2 separate regions of the Homo sapiens genome follow, and region 1 is linked to region 2. Evidence: promoter capture Hi-C in 16 types of primary human blood cells and fetal thymus (Javierre and others, 2016). All regions are on one chromosome and are shown on one strand. The core of a region is centred on a gene start or on the middle of the fragment in contact, and the rest is flanking DNA. Distances in the headings are between cores, read along the strand shown.

Region 1 (3,835 bases), core at 42-2,541, 270 kb after region 2:
AGTCGATCAAGTAATGCTGCCACCCCCAGGCTGGTGTGGGACCACGGGTGGGACCCAGGGGACTGCCTCAGGACCTGTAACTAGAGTGTGGATTGTGATGTAAAGCCAGAGAGGGGAGGGCGAGAGTCGGTTTGTTAGCACGCCCTGTGTACCAGGCTCCCACTGGGCCTCTTGGGCAGGTGGTCTCTTTAAACTGCCCCCATCGCACCGCTGGAAAGCAGCTGCTTAGCCTCGTTTTGCATCCACAAAATGAAGGACCTCACTGTTCTCACTGCACCAGGCAGGGCCACCATGCGGATCCCAGGGCTTCAAAACTCTCAGCCAGCTGCTCACCCCTTGTTTCCTGAACTGGAGCTGCGTATTTTCACAGTGACTAACGGTAACACGGACACTCCCTGTAGGGAAAGGGGTTCGGGGTGTACTCATTTCCCAGGCTGCCATTAACAAATGCCTGCAGACTGAGTGGCTTAACCAGGAGAAACTTAGAGTTCCTCGAGGTGCTGGAGGCCAGAAGTCCAAATTGAGGTGTAGGCTGTGTTGCTTCCCTCTGAGGCTGCGAAGAAGGATCTGTTCCGGGCCTCTGCCCCAGCTCCTGGTAGTTTGCTGGTGATCTCTGGTGTTCCTTGGCTTGTACATGCATCACTCTGATCTGTGCCTTCCTCTTCCTGTGGTCTTCCCTGTGTGCGTGTATGTGTCCAAATTTCCCCTTTTCATAAGGACACCAGCCACGCCGGGTTAGAGCCTAACCTAATGACCTCATATTAACTAATTTCATTTACAATTAACCTATTTCCAAATAAGGTTCTATTCTGAGGTACCTGGGATTGGGACTCCAACATATCTTTTGTGGGAGGACCCAATTCAACCCACAACAAGGGGAAAGGCAGGAGAGCACCTGGTTCCGTTGCCTCCCAGGATAACTCCATTAGGAACATTTGTGTCCAGGCTGAACAAGCCAGGCTCTGGGAGGGCCCCAGTGATGGGCGAGTGACAGCCAATACTGTCATTCACCCTCCTGCTTTCAAGTGGGGAGATAAAGGGAGAAATGGGAAATAATGTCGGTTCATTCAATGAGCACTGAGCACTCTTCCTGTCCTGGATCAGGCTAGGCCCTGGGCCAGGATCGCCACGTCTAATGGGAGACAGGGACAGGGAGGGAAATCCTTGGGAAGAAGGCAGAGGAGAAAAGGGAGACAGCGCTAGGAGGCCGCCGCAGCCATCACCACTTCGTTTATATGCCTGGAATCACGCCCCAACGTGGAGAGGCTTGCTTTAACTCTGAAGGCTGCAACTTTGTAAAAAATACTCCTGAAGGAAGGAAGGGCAGGCGTGAGAACTTTGGACGCAGACTTGCTTTCTGTGCGCCCTCTGCTGGTGACCAGCAGCACAACACAGTCCCTGCCGTTCTCCAGGCAGGAAGAGGAACGAGGTGATTAAACTGCGAAGGCCCAGGTCCTGTGCTGGGCAGTTTCTTGCAACAGCCCCGACACTGCTGGATGTTGTGATTCCCGTCCACAGGATGAAAGACGTTCCGTGTGTTGCCCCTGGGTGGAAGGCAGAGCCGAGGCCAGACATGGGGGGTTACTCTCCCCTGAAAGGCCCATTGTGATTTCATAAATCCAAAGGGTTTTTGTTACATTTCCCCCCTAATTTTTTTTTTGAGAGGGGGGTCTCACTTTGTCGCCCAAGCTGGCGTGGCACAATCTTGACTTACTGCAACCTCTGCCTCCTGGGTTCAAGCGAGTCTCCTGCCTCAGCCTCCCGAGTAGCTGGGATTACAGGAGTGCACTACCACGCCTGGCTAATTTTTGTATTTTTAGTAGACACAGGGTTTCTCCATGTTGGCCAGGCTGGTCTCGGACTCCTGACCTCAAGTGATCCGTCCACCTTGGCCTCCCAAAGTGCTGCGATTACGGGCCTGAGCCTCTGCACCCAGCCCTCCCTGCTACATTTTATTTCAAGCATAAAGAAAAACTGAAGGAATTGTACAGAATGTACACATACATCCACCACCTAGATTCTACAATTAATATTTTGCTATATTTGTGTCCTAGTGAGAGGTGACAGCGTGCTGGCAGTCCTCAGAGCCCTCGCTTGCTCTCGGCACCTCCTCTGCCTGGGCTCCCACTTTGGTGACACTTGAGGAGCCCTTCAGCCCACCGCTGCACTGTGGGAGCCCCTTTCTGGGCTGGCCAAGGCCAGAGCCGGCTCCCTCAGCTTGCAGGGAGGTGTGGAGGGAGAGGCGCGAGCGGGAACCCGGGCTGCGCGCGGCCCTTGCGGGCCAGCTGGAGTTCCGGGTGGGCGTGGGCTTGGCGGGCCGCGCACTCGGAGCAGCCGGCCAGCCCTGCCGGCCCCGCGCAGTGAGGAGCTTAGCACCCGGGCCAGTGGCTGCGGAGGGTGTACTGGGTCCCCCAGCAGTGCCGGCCCACTGGCGCTGCGCTCCATTTCTCAGCGGGCCTTAGCTGCCTTCCCGCGGGGCAGGGCTCGGGACCTGCAGCCCGCCATGCCTGAGCCTCCCACCCCCTCCATGAGCTCCTGTGCGGCCCAAGCCTCCCCGACGAGCGCCGCCCCGTGCTCCACGGCGCCCAGTCCCATCGACCGCCCAAGGGCTGAGGAGTGCGAGCGCACGGCGCGGGACTAGCAGGCAGCTCCACCTGCAGCCCCGGTGCGGAATCCACTGGATGAAGCCAGCTGGGCTCCTGAGTCTGATGGGGACGTGGAGAACCTTTGTATCTAGCTCAGGGATTGTAAACGCACCAATCAGCGCCCTGTCAAAACAGGCCACTGGGCTCTACCAATCAGCAGGATGTGGGTGGGGCCAGATAAGAGAATAAAAGCAGGCTGCCCAAGCCAGCAGTGGTAACCCGCTCGGGTTCCCTTCCACTCTGTGGGAGCTTTGTTCTTTTGCTCTTTGCAATAAATCTTGCTACTGCTCACTCTCTGGGTCCACACTGCTTCACCGCGAAGATCTGCAGCTTCACTCCTGAGCAAGCGAGACCACAAACCCACCAGAAGGAAGAAACTCCGAACACATCCGAACATCAGAAGGAACAAACTCCAGACGCGCCACCTTAAGAGCTGTAACACTCACCGCGAGGGTTCCCGGCTTCATTCTTGAAGTCCAAGAACCCACCAGTTCTGGACACACTAGCTCTCCACAGACTGGCTTTTAAAAATTCTAGTTATATATACGCCACTTACAAAAGGCACATCTAAAACAAAACAGCACAGAAAAATTATAATAATAGCGTTCAAAAGCCATTTGTATTTGCCCAAATGACGTATGTCCACACTTGTGTCTGGCACATGGGTGTCTACAGGAGCTGTATTCATAATTGCCAAAACCGGGAAGCAAGCAACGTGTTCTTCAATAAGTTAATGGATAAAAACACTGTGGTACCTCCAGACAATGGAGTCTTATTAATATAAGATATAATAATAAGAAAAGAGCTATCAAGCCACAAGAAAATGTGGAAGAAGCTTAAATGCATATTGCTTGGTGAAAGAAGTCAATCTGCAAAGGTTATCTACTGTATGAGTCCAATCATATGACTTTTTTTTTTTTTTGAGGAGTCTCCCTCTGTTGCCTAGCCTGGAGCGCAGTGGCACCGTCTTGGCTCACTGAAACCTCCGCCTCCCAGGTTCAAGCGATTCTCCTGCCTCAGCCTCCCAAGTAGCTGGGACTACAGGCGTGCACCACCACGCCCGTCTAATTTTTGTATTTTTAGTAGAGTTGGGTTTCACTGTGTTGGCCAGGCTGGTATTGAACTCCTGACCTCAGATGATCCACCCACCTTGGCCTCCCAAAGTGTTGGGATTACGGCATGAGCCACTG
Region 2 (4,038 bases), core at 561-3,060:
GGCCTCTGAGCCCAAGCCAAGCCATCGCATCCCCTGTGACTTGTACGTATACGCCCAGATGGCCTGAAGTAACTGAAGAATCACAAAAGAAGTGAAAAGGCCCTGCCCCACCTTAACTGATGACATTCCACCATCGTGATTTGTTCCTGCCCAACCTTAACTAAGTGATTAACCCTGTGAATTTCCTTCTCCTGGCTCAGAAGCTCCCCCACTGAGCACCTTGTGACCCCCCACCCCTGCCCACCAGAGAACAACCCCCTTTGACTGTAATTTTCCATTACCTTCCCAAATCCTATAAAACGGCCCCACCCCTATCTCCCTTCGCTGACTGTCTTTTTGGACTCAGCCCGCCTGCACCCAGGTGAAATAAACAGCCATGTTGCTCACACAAATCCTGTTTGGTGGTCTCTTCACACGGACGCGCATGAAACCTTGGTCGTGGGCCCTCGTGGTAGAGCCCATGTCCCCCAAGATTTCTTTGGCTGTGTTACCTTAGATTTGAACAAGCACTGTACCTAAGGCGGGCGCCTTCCTCCTCCCGCTTTCAGGAATGCCCTGCTCTGCCATTCTTTTGCTTTCTCACTTCTCTAATACACTTGCTTTCACTTTAGTCCGTGGACTCGCCCCGAATTCTTTCCTACGCGACATCCAAGAAGCCTCTCGCTGGGTCTGAGTGGAGACCTCTTTCTGGTAATAAACGGACTAGGGAGATTCGACTTTGAAGGTGAAAACAAAAACCACCATCCAGTTTATAAGAAGGCGCTCGAGGCCGGGAACGGTGGCTCAGGCCTGTAATCCCAGCACTTTGGGAGGCTGAGGTGGTGGGGCGGGGGGAGGGAATCACCTGAGGTCACGAGTTCGAGACCAGCCTGACCAATATGGTGAAAACCCGTCTCTACTAAAAATATAAACATTAGCCGGGCGTGGTGGCGCACGACTGTAATCCCAACTACTCGGGAGGCTGAGGCAGGAGAATCGCTTGAATCCGGGAGGCAGAGGTTGCAGTAGGCCAAGATCGTGCCACTTCACTCCAGCCTGGGCGAACAAGTTAAACTCTCCATCTCAAAAAAAAAAAAAAAAAAAGGGCGGCACTGGAAACAGCTGGGAGTGACAGGGCCAGGGATGAGGGATCGCAAGCTGCTGGTGAGAAAGGAGCTCAGAGGCTGCCTGGCCTACGGGCCAGGAGACCTCAGCGCAAAAAGCGCAGGACTCGTTCCCCTGCTCTACAGCTGAGTGCCCAGGACGGATCTCACTGGCTGAAAAAAACAGAAGAGAAGGCACCCAATGCAAAATCAAATGTCAGCGAACGAGGGGTCCTTTAACAGGCGGCCCACACGGCCCCTCCTGGCGCCGAGACCCAGCCCCTCCGGGCCACCCCGGCCAGGTACGACCAGCAGGGTCACCTGCGCGCGTCCCCCGAGACGGGGCCTCCTGATGTGAAGCGACCCCAGTGGCACCTCACACGATTCCCGAGGGTTGCGGGCGGCCTCTCCTCAGCCCTGCAGCTCCCACACGCGGACACCGCGGGCCTCGGCCATGTCCACTGACCGACCTTCCTCGCCGGAACTCCTCGCGCATCGCCGGCCCCTCAGCGGCGACTAGCGCGCGAACATCCTGGAAGACGCGTTGCCGGCCCCACGTGAGCCGACGCCCCAAAGCGCGGCTGCTGGCGCCGGCTACGAGATCAAGGTCGGCGCGTGCGCGCTTGCGCGAGACCGGCATTCTCAGCCCCGCGCCGGTTTCCAGGGAGCTGGGCGCATGCGCCGCGTAAGGGGCCCGGCCGGCGGAAGGAGGTGCTACTGCCGGAAGCGCCGGCGCGCTTGCGCAGTAGCTGAACGCGGGCGTTTCTTTCCTCCCTTTTTTTCGAATTGGTTTTGGGGGTAGATTCGAGTTACAAAATGGCCGCCCGGAGCGTGTTCGGCGCGGTTCCCCCAGCTGTCTCTGGCTGAACCGGCGCTCTCGCCTCCCTGCCGAACACAGCGTGAGGAGCCCCCCCAGGGATATGGTGTTTGAGTCTCTGGGCTTGCCGAGCACTAAGTCCTCTGAGTTCCGCAGCGCAGCACCGGAAGCGGCCGAGCGCGCTCAGCCCGGCGACCCCTGCGGGCTCCAGACCCCTGCGCCGCTGCGCCCCGGGTTTCGCCGCAACCAAGACCCAGCGAGTGCAGCGGCGGCCGCCGAGGAGGTGAGGAGCGGCGGCGGGCGCGGGAGGAGAAGAGGCTGAGGGCGGGAGCCTGGTGCTGAGAGCCCAGGGCCGGGAGGGCGGGAGCGGGCTCGGGCCTGGGAGGGGAGTGCGAGTGCAGGGCTGGGGACTGGACCCTGGGGAGGGAGGTGCGGGTTCAGCGCCGGGGGACGGGCCCCTGGGGAGGGGTGCGGGGCCGGGGGACCAGACCCTGGGGAGGGGCTTAAGGGGCTGGAGGACGGGACCCTGGGAAGTGGGGTACAGGGCTAGAGGTCGGGACTCTAGGGAGGGAGCCTGGGTCGGGCGCACGGGCCGGGCGGGGCGCGCGGTGGGGGAGCGACGGGTGGAGGGTGGGGTGGGATGACAGCGGCGACGCAGCCCCGGCTGTTTTTGAAGCGGGGCCCGGGCCCCACCGGGCTGCGGCGTCCGACTCGAGTGAGACTCTCCCCTGCGGCCCCGCCGGAGGTAGGGGGCTGGCAGGGCTGTCCTGGCGTGGTCTTCTCCGTTTCCTTCCTAGCGATTCCTCTCGAGCTTCCTCTCCCCCTGGCCGCCCCTCGTCTCTCTTCTCTTGGGCGCATTACCTCTCTGGCCTGTCTTACTGCGTTCCCGGGTTATTCATCACCCATTTGCTCGGTTCCATTAAGAACCAGCTTGGAGATTAGGTATTTCTGTCTCCTTACTTGGCCCCCTTGTTGTTTTCCTCCAACAAGGCACTTCACTATTAAGTGTAGCCAAATCTGTGTTTTCGTTTTAAGGTGATGTTGACAAGTTGAGCTTTCCAAGGGCAGAGCTACACCAGATGCCAGAGACCACATAACTATATCAGGCACAAATAATGTTTTTTTCCAGTTTACCTAGACTTTCAGTCTCCCACCACGTTGCTTCATACCTAGAAATCATGTCTAATTTGGTTTTTTACCCACAAACGCAAACGTTTTTTAAATTCCCTTTTATTGATTGTTTGATTGAGACTGGGTCTTGCTTTGTCACCAGGCCTCAGTGTAGTGGTAGCTCACTGTGTAGCCTGAAGCTCCTGGGCTCAAGTGATTCTCCTGCCTCAGCTTTCCAAGTAGCTGGGACCACAGGCGTGCGCCACTACGCTCGGCTAATTTTTTATTTCTATTCATCTAATCTATGTCCATCTTTATTTTCGTAGAGACCAAGTTGGTTTCCAACTCCTGGCTTCAAGAGATCCTTCCGCCTCCCTTAAGTTCTTCATAACAGTAGCTAGACATAAGACTCCAGGTGCCAGGCCTTGTTCTGAATATTTTACAGAGGGTTTTTTCTCCCCCCCACTTCTAGCATAAAAGTAAAATGTATTGTCTGAAGTGTCATGCTTTGAAATAAAATAGGGATTTGGTAAAATATTTGTAAAAATCTGGTTTGTAATCCAAGTTATTCTTCTTCCATGCTACAACTTTTACGTTTTGGAGGGAAAATGATAGTTTATAGCCTTTGCTTCTAATAAAACTTGTTTCTTTAATAATTTATTAAGCCCTTCCTCTGCTCCAGGCACTGTTCTAAGCCAGTCTTTGTTTATCTTAACTTTCTTAATACTTCCTGTTCCACAGATGAAGAAACTGAGGCACAAAAATTAAATATAACTTGCCCAAGTTCTCACAGCTAGAAAATGGCAAAACTGGGATGCCAGCATCTTTTAGTATTTTTTGAAATACTTTATGCTCACTGGGGAAATACTTCCCCAGCTCACTGATCTAATGACAGACAGGACACCTGCTGTTTGAGCTGGGCACTGTTGGGGCATTTGGAGTATATCTGTAAACAAAACAAAGATCCCTGCGTTTTGGTTATATACTGATTTGGTGAGTATGTTAGGACGTGGAAGCCCCTACATTTAT

What was found. The method cuts DNA at HindIII sites, captures the fragments that hold promoters and counts their contacts. A CHiCAGO score of 5 or more calls a contact.
Region 1: a contact is called between a fragment that was not itself captured here and the fragment with the promoter of NUP50 in region 2, in 7 of 17 cell types (neutrophils, naive B cells, naive CD4 T cells and 4 more). The highest score is 14.3, in neutrophils.

The regions. Positions count from the first base shown.
Region 1 is chr22:45,434,492-45,438,326 of GRCh38, forward strand. No RefSeq gene overlaps it. Among named protein-coding and RNA genes, the nearest start is that of RIBC2, 23 kb to the left of the region's middle. The HindIII fragment of the contact is 4,374 bases long and covers 1-3,478 here.
Region 2 is chr22:45,162,115-45,166,152 of GRCh38, forward strand. NUP50 (nucleoporin 50) reads left to right here and starts at 1,811. Exons shown (of 8, transcript NM_007172.4): 1 at 1,811-2,182. NUP50-DT (NUP50 divergent transcript) reads right to left here and starts at 1,667. Exons shown (of 3, transcript NR_038956.1): 1 at 1,463-1,667. RefSeq lists silencers at 1,323-1,372, 2,143-2,372, 2,403-2,582 and an enhancer at 1,740-2,262. The HindIII fragment of the contact is 17,324 bases long and covers 1-4,038 here.